Regions from separate parts of the Homo sapiens genome. Here region 2 is linked to region 1. Evidence: promoter capture Hi-C in 16 types of primary human blood cells and fetal thymus (Javierre and others, 2016). All regions are on one chromosome and are shown on one strand. Each heading gives the region's core, a stretch centred on a gene start or on the middle of the fragment in contact. The rest is flanking DNA. Distances are from core to core; before and after follow the strand shown.

Region 1 (6,844 bases), core at 3,186-5,685:
TTTTCTCACCTACAAAATGGGGATGGCCAGGCACAGTGGCTCGTGAATGTCATCCCATTACTTTGGGAGGCCAGGACAGGCAGATCGCTTGAGTTCAGAGTTGGAGATCAGCCTGGGCAACACGGCGAAACCCCGTCTCTACTAAAAATGTAAAAATTAAGGCCGGGCGCGGTGGCTCACGCCTGTAATCCCAGCACTTTGGGAGGCTGAGGCGGGTGGATCACCTGAGGTCAGAAGTTCGAGACCAGCCTGACCAACATGGTGAAACCCCGTCTCTACTAAAAAAAAAAATTTTTAATACAAATACAGATACAAAAATTAGCCAAGGATGGTGGTGCATGCCTGTAATCCCAGGATCACCTGAGCCCAGGAGATCAAGACTGCAGTGAGCCGTGATCGCACCACTGCACTCCCACCTGGGCGACAGAGTAAGACTCTTGTCTTGAAAATAAATAAATATAAAACAAATAAAATGGGGATAAAAATAGTACACACCTCATGGGACTGTTGTGGCTTGAATACGATGATGTTTGAAAAGTGCCTAGAACTATGCTTGGTATGGAGGAAGTATTGTGAGTGTTAAATATAATGGGGTTTTCCCCAGCACATGTAGATGAAACTTTGTTCTCAGCCCCTGCCCTCAGAGCCAAAGAGTAGTGGGCAGAGCTACATCCACAAGTGTGAGTGCATGAGGAGAAGGTGGGCACACGAGCACCCACACCCCCACTCACACACACTCATGCAAACCACACAGCAGTGGGGACCTTGGCAGCCCCCACCTAGCAGCTGCTGCCCCAAACAGGACCTTTCCAGGGTCCAGCCCTCACCTTTACCCAACAAGAAAGAGACGCTGTGGTGGTTTTCAGAGCCAGTCAGGGACTAGGGAGGGGTTCTTGAGGCCAGAACTCCCAGGAGTTGGGCAAGTCAGGGAGGCTAGGTGTTAGCCAGGAGAGCAGCATTAGAATATATCCAACTGGCCAGGTGCGGTGGCTCACACCTCTAAAACCAGCTACTGGGGAGGCTGAGGTGGGAGGATGGCTTGAGGCCAGGAGTTCGACGCTGCAGTGAGCTACGATCGTGCCATTGCACTCCAGACCGGGCGACAGAGCAAAACCCTGTCTCCAAAAAAAAAAAAAAAAAAAGAAGACATCATGCTGAGTGAAATTACCCAGATGCAAAAGATAAATATTGATTGTATGATTCTACTTATATGAGATTTATAGAATAAGTGAATTTTTTAATTAATTATTAATTTTAATTTTATTTTATTTATTTGTTTCTTTTTGAGACGGAGTCTCACTCTGTCACCCAGGCTGGAGTGTAGTGGAACGATCTCAGCTCACTGCAACCTCCACCTCCTGGGTTCAAGCGATTCTCCTGCCTCAGCCTCCCGAGTAGCTGGGATTACAGGCACGTGCCCCCCACGCCCAGCTAATTTTTGCATTTTTAGTAGAGATGGGATTTTGCCATGTTGGCCAGGCTGGTCTCGAACTTCTGACCTCAGGTGATCTTCCTGCCTTGGCCTCCCAAAGTGCTGGGATTACAAGCCTGAGCCACCGCGCCCGGCCATTTATTTATTTTATTCATTCATTTATTTATTTATTTATGAATGACAAGGTCTGGCTCTGTCACCCAGGCTGGAGTACAGTGGCACAATCTCAGCTCATTGCAATTTCCTTCTCCCAGGTTCAATCCATCCTCCCACCTCTGCCTCCCGAGTAGCTGGGACTACAGGCACACGCCACCATGCTGGCTAATTTTTTGCATTTTTTGTAGAGACAGGGTTTTGCCACGTTGCCAAGGCTGGTCTCAAACTCGTGAGCTCAAGCAATCTGCCCACCTCAGGCCTTTCAAGGTACTGGGATTACAGATGAGAGCCACGGCGCCTGGACTAGAATATGTGAATTTACAGAGACCAAAAGTAGAATAGAGGTTAGGAGGGACTGAATGGGGGCGAGTGAGAAATGGGGTCATTGCTTAATGGGCACAGAGTTTCAGTTGGGGATGATGAAAAAGTTTCACAGATGGAGGGTGGTAATGGTTGCACAACGTGAGTGCATTTAGTACCTCTGAGCTTTACACTTAAAAATGGTTAAATTGAGGCCAGGCGCAGGGGCTCGCACCTGTAATCCCAGCACTTTGGGAGGCTGAGGCAGGCGGATCACCCGAGGTCAGGAGTTCAAGACTGGCCTGACCAAAATGGTGAAGCCCCGTGTCTACTAAAAATACAAAAATTAGCCGGGCGCGGTGGCTCACGCCTGTAATCCCAGCACTTTGGGAGGCTGAGGTGGGCGGATTACGAGGTCAGGAGATCGAGACCATCCTGGCTGACATGGTGAAACCCCGTCTCTACTAAAAATACAAAAACAAAATTAGCCAGGCATGGTGGCAGGCGCCTGTAGTCCCAGCCACTCGGGAGGCTGAGGCAGGAGAATGGCGTGAACCCGGGAGGCACAGCTTGCAGTAAGCTGAGATTATGTCACTGCACTCCAGCCTGGGTGACAGAGCAAGACTCTGTCAAAAAAAATACAAAATACAAAAATTAGTTGGGCGTGGTGGCACATGCCTGTAGTCCCAGCTACTTGGGAAGCTGAGGCAGGAGAATCGCTTGAACTCGGCAGGCAGAGATTGCAGTGAGCCGAGATCGCGTCACTGCACCCCAGTCAGGGCGACAGAGCAAGACTCTGTTTCAAAAAAAAAAAAAAGGCTAAATTGTAAATTCTATATTATTTTACCACAATTAAAAAAAAAGTAAATGGGGTTATTGTAATATCAGAACAGTGACAACATTCTAGATTCCCAGCTTCAGAGGCTGGTTAAATAAATTATGGTACCTCCAGGCCAGGCGCCGTGGCTCATGCCTGTAATCCCAGCACCTTGGGAGGCCGAAGCAAGCGGATCACCTGAAGTCAGGAGTTCGAGACCATCCTGGCCAACATAGAGAAACCCCGTCTCTACTAAAAATACAAAATTAGCCGGGCGTGGTGGCACATGCCTGTAATCCCAGTTATTTGGGAGGTTGAGGCAGGAGAATCGCTTGAACCCTGGAGGCGGAGGTTGCAGTGAGCTGAGATCCTGCCATTGCACTCCAGCCTGGGCAACAAGAGCGAAACTCCATCTCAAAAAAAAAAAAATTAAATTAATAAATAAATCATGGTACCTCCCTACAATGGGGCACCAGACAGCCCTGTACATGATGTTAGTCTATGTTGATCTGAAAGACGTTCAGAATTTGATGGTGAAAAATAAACAAGAGCCTACAAAATCCATGTCCAGGATAATTCCATTCAGATAAAAATAATAAAACACATCAAAGACAAACTTGTGAACTGGCCAGTCATAGCTTATTTGGCTGCTTTTTCTCGTGAATTCTGATACAGAAGCTTATTGGGGGCCAGGCGTGGTGGCTCACACCTGTAATCCCAGCACTTTGGGAGGCCAGGGCGGGCAGATCACCTGAGGTCAGGAGATAGAGACCAGCCTGGCCAACATGGTGAAACCCCGTCTCTACTAAAAATACAAAAAAATTAGCCGGGCATGGTGGTGGTGCCTGTAATCCCAGCTACTTGGGTGACTGAGGCAGGAGAATCCCTTGAACCCAGTAGGCAGAGGTTGCAGTGAGCCAAGATCGCACCACTGCACTCCAGCCTGGGCAACAAGAGCAAAACTCCATCTCAAAAAAAAAAAAAAAAAGCTCATTTGAGATGATTTTTAGTGGAGACCCTTCCAGAGTGGCTCCCATCAGAGTTTAAATTTATGTCCTTTTTTTAACAAAAGAAATGTCCAGCCTCACAGAATAGGAGGTGACAGGCTGGGCACAGTGGTTCACACCTGTAATTCCAACAGTTTGGGAGGCCAAGGTGAGAGGATTGTTTGAACCCAGGAGTTTGAGACCAGCCTGGGCAACAGGCCCCCATCGCTGCAAAAAAAAAAAAAAAAATTAGACAGGCATGGTGGTGGTGTGCCTGTAGTCCCAGCTACTCAGGAGGTTGAGGCAGGAGGATTGCAGGATTGCTTGAGCCAAGGAGGTTGAGGCTGTAGCGAGCTGTGATTGCATCACTGTACTCCAGCCTCAGTGACAGAGCAAGACCCTTAATCAAAAAAAAAAAAAAAAAGAAGGTCACAGGAAGTCACTCAGGAATCACTTTTTTTTTTTTTTGAAATGGAGTCTCCCTGTGTCACCCAGGCTGGAGTGCAGTGGTGCAGTCTCGGCTCATTGCAAGCTCCACCTCCCGGGTTCACGCCATTCTCCTGCCTCAGCCTCCTGAGTAGCTGGGACTACAGGCACCTGCCACCACACCCAGCTAATTTTTTGTATTTTTAGTAGAGACGGGGTTTCACTGTGTTAGCCAGGATGGTCTAGATCTCCTGACCTTGTAATCCACCCACCTCGGCCTCCCAAAGTGCTGGGATTATAGGCATGAGCCACCGAGCCCGGCCAGGAATCACTCTTCAGAAATCCCCAGGGAGTCATCTTTTATGTGATGAATCAATAAGGATGCTTTTGTCCGCAAGTAACAGCAGAAGTAACAGCAGCCAAACCAGGACATTCATTCGTTCTCTTGCACTGCAAATCAAGAAGTAGGCAGTTTCAGGGTTGATTAACTCAGTGGCTCCATGACATCATAAAAAACTCAGTGTTTTTCATCTTTCCCCCCTGAAATCTTTATAGTGTTGGCCTTTGATTACTTAATTAATTGCTATAAAACAAATCCCCCCAGAACTCATGGCTTTAAACAACAGTAGTCATTTATCTCTTGCATTTTTCAGTGGTCAGGAATTTGGGAGCAGCTGAGATGCAGGACTATGGCTCAGGGTCTCTTGTTGCCGTGAAGGGCTGCAGTCCCCTAAAGTCTTAACTGGGGCTGGGAGCTCTGTTTCCAAGGGGCCTCACTCACGTGGCAGGCAAGTTGGTGCTGCCTGTTGGCTCCTGTCTAGATGGGTCCCTCCACAGGACTGCTTGAGCATCCTCACGGTATGGTGGCTAGTTTCCTGCAGGGGGAACAATACATTAGGGACCAAGGCAGAAACTGCAACATCTTTTTTTTTTTTTTTTTTTTTTTTGAGACAGAGTCTTGCTCTGTCACCCAGGACGTAGTGCACTGGCACAATCTCCACTCGCTGCAACCTCCATCTCTTGGGTTCAAGCGATTCTCCCACCTCAGCCTCCTGAGTCACTGGGATTACAGGCGCATGCCACGACGCCCAGCTAGTTTTTGTATTTTTAGTAGAGACAGCGTTTTACCATGTTGGCCAGGCTGGTCTTGAACTCCTGACCTCAGGTGATCCAGCTGCCTCGGCCTCTCAAAGTGCTGGGATTACAGGCGTGAGCCACTGCGTCTGGCCTGCATCTTTCCTGACCTGGACTCCTAGGTCTGTACTCAGCTGCATTCCATTGGCCACACAGGCCAGTCTATGCTCTGTGTTCCCATACTCTCTGCTGCCCCTCCATGTGGAAGGGCATGAATACCAGGAGGGAAAGCTTGCGGGAGATCTTTTTTAAAAAAAGAAGATTTATGTATTTTATTCAAGCCAATTTTTTTTTTGTTTTGCTTTGTTTTTGAGATGTCGTTTTGCTCTTGTCGCCCAAGCTGGAATGCAGTGGTGCAATCTCAGCTCACTGCAACCTCTGCCTCCCAGGTTCAAGCAATTCTCCTGCCTCAGCCTCCCAGAAGTAGCTGGGATTACAGGCACTTGCCACCACGCCCGGCTAATTTTTGTATTTTTAGTAGAGACAGGGTTTCTCCATGTTGGCCAGGCTGGTCTCGAACACCTGACCTCAGGTGATACACCCGTTTCAGCCTCCCAAAGTGCTGGGATTACCAGCCTGAGCCACCACGCCCTGCCACGAGATCTTCTTGCAGGCTGGCTACCACAGTCTCCATCTTGAGGCTTGTCGTCTCACATATAAGAAGGTAGGAGATTCATCCTGAAATGTGTTCATGTGTATTTATTAGGGAGGAAAATCTGCCCTAGAAATTCCCCTGCTGGTGCTCCCTCACAGCCCACTGGCCAGGTTGAGTCACATGTCGGTGCCACGTCTGCAGGAGAAGCTGGGAAGGTGGGTGCCAGGGAAGTCTGCCTCTGTCTCTGAGGAAGAATGGGAAAGAAAGGGGCCACAGGGTAGCCGGGCGCAGTGGCTCATGCCTATAATCCCAGCACTTTAGGAGGCTGAGGCGGGCGGATCACTTGAGGTCAGGAGTTTGAGACCAGCCTGGCCAACATGGTGAAACCCTGTCTCTACTAAAAATACAAAAATTAGCCAGACGTGGTGGCAGGCGCCAGTAATCTCAGCTACTCGGGAGGCTGAGGCAAGAGAATCGCTTGAACCCAGGAGGCAGAGGTTGCAGTGAGCCGAGATTGTGCCACTGCACTCCAGCCTGGGGAGACAAGAGCAAGACTTCGTCTCGAAAAAAAAAAAAAAAAAGAAAGTGGCCACGGGATAAGCAGACCATGTCTTCGCAGATGGCTAACCACCTCTCAGCCTTGATGCTTGCAGGGCTGAAACGAGCTCCTGGTATGGATTCCCAAAGAGGAAGGGAAAATTTTAGGTTCTAGATCTAGAAGGTGGCAGATGTCAGAAGCTGTCCTAACCCAGGCCTCCTGGAGCTAGGAGTCACCCTAGATGGTGGAAAGTGTGCAGGAAATACAGCCACTGAACCCTGAGAACAGCAAGCTTGACATCTCAAGCCTAGAACCCTTCTCGCTGAGGTTAGCACGATTTCAAAAAGCATCGTTACCACCAAGTCCTGGGGACTGGTTACAACCAGGTTTCAATGGCGACACCATGTGGTCATGATGGGAAATAGCAGTCATGACCTATGCCCCGCATGGTGTAGGCTCT
Region 2 (6,844 bases), core at 2,986-5,485, 220 kb before region 1:
TAACCGGGGCAGGAGGATCTGTTTCCAAGATGGCTGCCCCACGTGGTTGGTAGTTGGAGGGTTCAGTTCCTCACTGGCTCGTAGCAGGAGGGCTCAGTTCCTTGCCACGTGGACCTCTCCATAGAGTTTCTTGAGTGACCTCATGACATAGTAGTTAATTTCTCTCAGAGAAAGCAGAACAAGAAAGAGGGAGAGTGGGGAGGGAGGAGACGGAAAGCCCTAATGTCTTTTAGGACCTAGCTTTGGAAGTCACACACATCATTTCATACTGCATTGGCTTTGCAGACCAACCCAGACACAATGTAGGAGACTATGGAAAGGCATGCATATCAGGAGGTCGGAATCACTGGGGGATGTTTTAAAGAATGGCCACCACGAGCATGCCCTCTGAATTCTGGTGATTTACATTCCTTCCACATGCAAAATACACTCGCTCCCTCTCAAGCTACCCCAAAGTCGAATCCCATTATAGCATCAGCTCAAAGTCTAGAATTTCATCATCTAAATCAGGTCCATGTATAGATGAGATTTCTCAACTGTATTACCTTAAGTATACTTCCAGAATACAATTCCTCCTCTTCTTTTTTTTTTTCTTTTTTAAAGAAGTTTCACTCTGTTGCCCAGGCTGGAGTGCAGTGGCACGATCTCAGGTCACTGCAATCTCTGCCTCTGGGGTTCAAGCGATTCTCCTGCCTCAGCCTCCTGAGTAGCTGGGATTACAGGTGTCCACCACCATGCCTGGCTACTTTTTGTATTTTTAGTAGAGATGAGGTTTCACCATGTTGGTCAGGCTGGTCTTGAACTCCTGAACTCAGCTGATTCTCCCACCTCGACCTCCCAAAGTGCTGGGATTACAGGCATGAGCCACCGTGCCTGGGCTCCTCTTCTTCTGAAGACCTGTAAACTAAAGAGAAAGTCATCTGACCCCACCCCCAACATACAATGTTGGAACAGGCATAGGCTAACCACCATAGATATCCCTATCCAAGACGGGAAGAAATGGCCTGGGTCTTTCCTCTCCCATCACAACTGCATCATAATCTAACCTCACTCAGTCTACCCACAAGTTACTGTGAATTACTTTTGGAAGCCTTCCCAACTCTTCAATCACACTTTTAATCTGCAAGAAAATTACTGGGTTTGTGCCATTTCTATGGAAGATGAATTTTACCCACCACATTTTGATTTTTCTGAATTTCACTTATAAAAAAAACCTTTTGGTTGGGCACGGTGGCTCACACCTGTAATCCCAGCACTTTGGGAGGCTGAGGCAGGCTGATCACATGAGGCCAGGAGTTCGAGACTAGCCTGGCCAACATAGCGAAAACCCATCTCTACTAAAAATACAAAAAATTAGCCGGGCATGGTGGCAGGCGACTGTAATTCCAGCTACTCGAGAGACTAAGGCAGGAGAATTGCTTGAGCCCGGGAGGCAGAGGTTTTAGTGAGCCAAGATCGCGCCACTGCACTCCAGCCTGGGCGACAAGAGCAAAACTCCTTCTCAAAAAAAGAAAAAAAAAAAAAGCTCAACTTTACTCATAATAAGGGTAATGCAAATTAAAATTAAAACTAGGGTACCATTTTTCACCTATCCGATTGGCTAAGGTAAGGTTATGAACACACCATTGGCAAGAGTGAGGAAGAATGGGCATTCTCATACACAGTCCACTGGTGGGAGTCTAAATCAGTACAACTTTCTACAGAGGGCAATTGAGCAGTTTCTGCCTAAATTCGATATGCTTTTGGTCCAGAAATTCTATCTCCAGGGTTTTGTTCTACAGAGATACTTTCATACGAGAAATGCTGTATATGCGAGGTTTATTTCTTTCAGCACTTTTTCATAGCTACAAAAGATTACTAATAACCTGTGTCCACTACAAGAGACTAGTAGAATTTATGGCGTTACAGCAAATGGCAGCCTTAGCAAAGAACAAGGAAGCTCTTTATGCATGGATATGGAATGACCTCCTGTTGCACTATGGAAAAACGAGATGCAGAATAAGGCATGCTACAATGTGCAGAAAAAGACAAAGATAGGCGTGTATTTGCTCAGTAATATTAGTGCACAGAAGAGACTGGTAACTGTGATTGCTGGGAGTGGAGCAACTGGGTGGCTTGGGGCCAAGAGGAGGGAGAAACTAGTGAATATCACTTTGTACCTTTTGAATTTTGAATCACATGAATGTACTTCCCAGTAAACAATTAAGCAGGGCCGGACATGATGGCTCATGGCTGTAATCCCAGCACTTGGGGAGGCCGAGGCAGGTGGATCACTTGAGGTCAGGAGTTCAAGACCAGCCTGGCCAACATGGTGAAACCCCATCTCGACTGAAAATACAAAAAGTAGCCGGGCATGTTGGTGGGTGCCTGTAATCCCAGCTACTCTGGAGGCTGAGGCAGGAGAATCGCTTGAACCCGGCAGGTGGAGGTTGCAGTGAGCCGAGATCACACCACTGTACTCTAGCCCGGGCAACAGAGCAAGACTCCATCTCATTAAAAAAAAAAACACCAAAAACAAAAAACAAGCAAACCAGAAAATATGCATCACAGACATATTTTCGTGGACTTCATTTGTGTTACCAGGCTGATTGTAATCCATGCCATGAAGTTTATGTTAGTATTCCCCTTTTGTTTACATTGCCTGATAATTTGTTTCCCTTTGTCTCCCCCAAGGGAAGCATTCATTTATAATGAATTTTTCAGCTCAGTGTGTTTCAGCAAACACTTATTGACACCCACAAACCCTGACACTGTGCCGTCTCCAGGGGAAACAAAAGTGAGAGTCCTGCTGGGTGTGTAGTCCCTGCCTAGGACGGGCTCACATTAGTGGGGGATACACACATACAAATGCTCACACTGCAGTATTAACTGTGCAACAGTAGAAGTGTGCGCAAGGAGAAAAGTGTTAGAAAGGAAAGCTGGGCCGGGCGCCGTGGCTCACACCTGTAATTCCAGCACTTTGGGAGACTGAGGTGGGTGGATCACAAGGTCAGGAGTTCAAGACCAGCGTGGCCAACATGGAGAAACCCCGTCTCTACTAAAAATACAAAAATTATCCAGGCATGGTGGCAGGCGCCTGTAATCCCAGCTACTCGGAAGGCTGAGGCAGAGAATTGCTTGAGCCCGGGAGGCAGAGGTTGCCGTGAGCCGAGATCGTGCCATTGCACTCCACCCTGCATTCCAGGGTGACAGAGTGAGACTCTATATCTCAAAAAAAAAAAAAAAAGGAAAGCTAATTCACTCTGGTGGGGTGGTGGGGGGTGAAAGTACCGGGTAAGACTTTCCTGAGAAACCGGAGGTGAACTAGGGTTTAGAAGCATGAATAGATGAATAGACTAATCCAGGAGCAAGTTCTTTTGAGAGAACAGCAGGTGGGGTTCTGGGGAACACATGGCTCCAGCCCAAAAAGAAACTGGAGACGAATTAGGGTTTAGAAGCATGACCAGACTAACCCAGAAGTGAGTTCTTTGAGAGAACAGCAGGGGCGGCGGGGGGAGGGGGGGTTCCGGGGAACACATGGCTCCAGCACAGGAGATGCCAGGGTGCAGTGGGATGAGAGGTGAGGAGAGCAGGTCAGGTTAGCAAGGGCATTGAATGCCAGAAACATTTGGACTTTTATTCTGCAGGCAACAGGGAGGCAGCGGCTTTTATGCTCAAAAGGAATGAGTCCCAGTGGCTGGCACAGAGAAGGCAAGTGTGCAAAGCTGGTCGAATGAATTCCGTGGCCTGAATGTACCTTCCTCAAATGCCACTGCAAACTGGGTCTCCTCGCCCACTTCACCCTCTCCTGCAATCCAACTTGTGAGGCTTGTGTGTGCGCGCGCGTGTCCTTGCGTGTGTGTGTGTGTGCACGCGTGCGTTTAGATGGAGGTTGGCTTCCCAGCCACCCAGGCTTGGCCCAAAGTCCGTGGTACACACGTGCATAACTCCTACCCCCACCTCGCCTGCCTGCTGTACCAGGCGTTGATTCCCTCTTCCTGCGTGTTTTCGGTCCAAATCCTTTTCTTTTTCTCCCTCCCGTCAAGATAGTGGTTTCCACTCCCTGCTCTCGCCAGGACACCGCCTTTTGGACTGGGGCTGAATTCTGCCCCTTGAAGCTCTGCTCCTTGGAGCTGGGGGCCCCAGCGGTAGGCGGAGTTGATTGGAGACCTGCCACCCACATTCCGACCCCAAGCGACCTCCGAGAGGGCGGGGTCTCAGGCTGGGTTATTTAGCTCGTCCACCCTTCTCCACCAGAAGGAGCGAAACATCTTTGAGCAAGATGGGTCTCTACCGCATCCGCGTGTCCACTGGGGCCTCGCTCTATGCCGGTTCCAACAACCAGGTGCAGCTGTGGCTGGTCGGCCAGCACGGGGAGGCGGCGCTCGGGAAGCGACTGTGGCCCGCACGGGGCAAGGTGAGCTCCCCAGAGCCGGGCGGGGTGGGCTGCGCCCCTGGCTCCGAGTCAGTCAAATACCGGGGAGGACATGCGCCCCCGTTGGCCTCTGGCCGATTCTCTTTGCCAAGGGCCCGCGCATTGGGCTCAAAGCGCGCGGAGGCCACGGGGGTGGGGGGCTTTAGGGCAGTCGGTGGCACACAGTAAGCGCTCAATAAATGTTGCCGCTACCCGATCTCCTTGGAATTGAGGGCATGCTCCTGTGCGCCCCTCATTGCACAAAGCTCCCTTGTCTGGAAACTCAGCAGTCACTGGAGCCGCCGTCGGTCCTCTCGCTTTCTCTATTTTAAAAACCGTTTCAACCGCTAGCGCTGTTGGATCTCTACCTTTCAGGCTTTATCACCTGGGGTGGAGTGGGTGGTGAGAGGGAAGGGATGGGGAGTCAAGACAGGAGAACGCTCTCGATTTCCCGACCCACCTCCCGTCATATCTCATGTCACATCTACCGGGTGTTCTACCCGGTCCTGTTAACTTTTTTTCTTCCGCGAAAGCCCAAATTCCCATCACTGCTCTAGCTCTCTCCCAGATCCCCAAATCCGGATGTCTGTCTCAGGGAACGTCAAAGCAACATGCCCGGATGAGGTCCTCCCCTCTCCCCACCTCCCAGCCCTCTCCTCCTGCCTCCCCCGGTGTCACCCGCGCCTCCTTCCTCTCTTCACCTCCCTCTAAACAAGAATCCGGCGCAGTCAGTTCTAGACCCTGAGCATCTCCCGCGTCCCTGCCCAATATCCGTCCCGCCCCCGACCGCCCGCGTCCTCTTGAACCTGCGGAGCCCTGCTCCCCGCACTCCACGCCCTTGCTCCGAGCTTCCGAGAAAGCGGGGCAAAGGGAGCCAGGAAGAGAGAAAATGCGCACGGAGCAGGTGGCCCCGCGACTCCATGGTGAGGGGACGGGGCACGGAAGGTGGAAAGGCGCGCTCCCTCCTCCCTTTTTTCCTCCCTATGGTGGGCAGTTGGTGACACACAGTAAAGGCTCAATAAATGTTCCCGCTACTCGATCTCCTTGGAATTAAGGGGATGCTCCTGAGCGCCCCTCATTCCACACAGCTCTGGTGCCTGGAAACTGCGGTCGCCGGAGCGGTCGTCGGTCCTCCCGGTTTCTCTATTTTAAAAGCCATTTCAAACCTCCAGCGGCCTCGCCACCTCTGCTGCAGACCTTCCAAGCCCTTCTGAAGCCGGAATGATTTCTCCCTAATTCACTCCCCCTGCTTAACACATTCGAACGGCTCCCGCTTGTTCTCGGGACCAAATCCAAAGCCCCTGGCGCCACCTTCGAGAGCCTCCGGACCTGCTGACCCCCCACACCTGGGCTCTGAGCTCCAGCTCCAAGATGCTGCTCGCCCTCCCTTCCCCGCCGCTCTCTTTCTGCGCGCCTTTCCCCTGCCTTCCCTTTCTGTCACTCTCCCTGGCTGAGCCCTCTCCGCCTCCAGGTCTCCGGGAAGGTTGTCCCCAGGCCGGTGGGGCCCCTGCAGGTCCTCAGCCTCGGGCGGGGTGGGGTGGGGGGTCGCACAGCGGGAATTGCCACCAGCGCGTCCGGGCTCCACAGCGCGCTCGTCCAGGGCGCGGCAGCGCTCAGCCCAGCGCTTGGCACAGTCAGTGACCACAGGGAGGAGAAAGTGAAGGCAGGAGCGCACCTTCCCACCTGCCGTCCCCGTCCCCTCAGAACCGAGTCCTGGGGCCACCTGCTCGGCGCGGTCCCTCTCTCTCTGGCTCAGTCCCCGCACCCCGATACGTCTCCTCCTCTCAGAGGCTCCGAGGAAGGGCGTGGGCGCTGGAGGGAGCAGGGCTCAGCCGGGTGCCCCTCCCGCCAGGCCCCACCGGGGCTGAGCCTCTTCTGTCGCCCGCAGGAGACAGAACTCAAGGTGGAAGTACCGGAGTATCTGGGGCCGCTGCTGTTTGTGAAACTGCGCAAACGGCACCTCCTTAAGGACGACGCCTGGTTCTGCAACTGGATCTCTGTGCAGGGCCCCGGAGCCGGGGACGAGGTCAGGTTCCCTTGTTACCGCTGGGTGGAGGGCAACGGCGTCCTGAGCCTGCCTGAAGGCACCGGTAAGCGCGGGGCTGAGGGTGTCAGGAGGCCTCTGGGCTGTGTGAGAAGCTGGGGGGATGCGCGTGTGGAGAAGAGGGCGCAGGATGGGGGTGCTGGAACCTGGAGCGCCGGGGTCTTTGGGGGTGTCGAAGGGGCGGTGGCTGCAGCTGGCACAAAGTGGCTGGAGCCTGGGGGAGGGGCGTGATGCTGAAGGGGCAGAGGCCACACAGAAGGACGGGGTGCTGAGGCTCTCCTGGCAGAGACAAGAAGAGGCGCTCACCAAAAGTCACTGGCCAAGTCCTCCTCTGTCCTTCTAGGCCGCACTGTGGGCGAGGACCCTCAGGGCCTGTTCCAGAAACACCGGGAAGAAGAGCTGGAAGA

Evidence for each region. Contacts are between HindIII fragments. The CHiCAGO score rates a contact against its expected background, and 5 or more counts as called.
Region 2: the fragment with the promoter of ALOX15 here is called in contact with a fragment that was not itself captured in region 1 in 7 of 17 cell types (naive CD8 T cells, naive CD4 T cells, total CD4 T cells and 4 more); the score reaches 12.7 in naive CD8 T cells.

What each region holds. Positions count from the first base shown.
Region 1 is chr17:4,420,731-4,427,574 of GRCh38, reverse strand. No RefSeq gene overlaps it. Among named protein-coding and RNA genes, the nearest start is that of SPNS3, 9.8 kb to the left of the region's middle. RefSeq lists a silencer at 6,686-6,844. The HindIII fragment of the contact is 2,099 bases long and covers 3,386-5,484 here.
Region 2 is chr17:4,639,069-4,645,912 of GRCh38, reverse strand. It overlaps ALOX15 (arachidonate 15-lipoxygenase), which reads left to right and starts at 4,235. Exons shown (of 14, transcript NM_001140.5): 1 at 4,235-4,396; 2 at 6,282-6,483; 3 at 6,781-6,844. The coding sequence starts at 4,262. LOC105371499 (a long non-coding RNA gene) reads right to left here and starts at 904. Exons shown (of 3, transcript XR_001752768.2): 1 at 1-904. RefSeq lists an enhancer at 6,792-6,844. The HindIII fragment of the contact is 20,783 bases long and covers 1-6,844 here.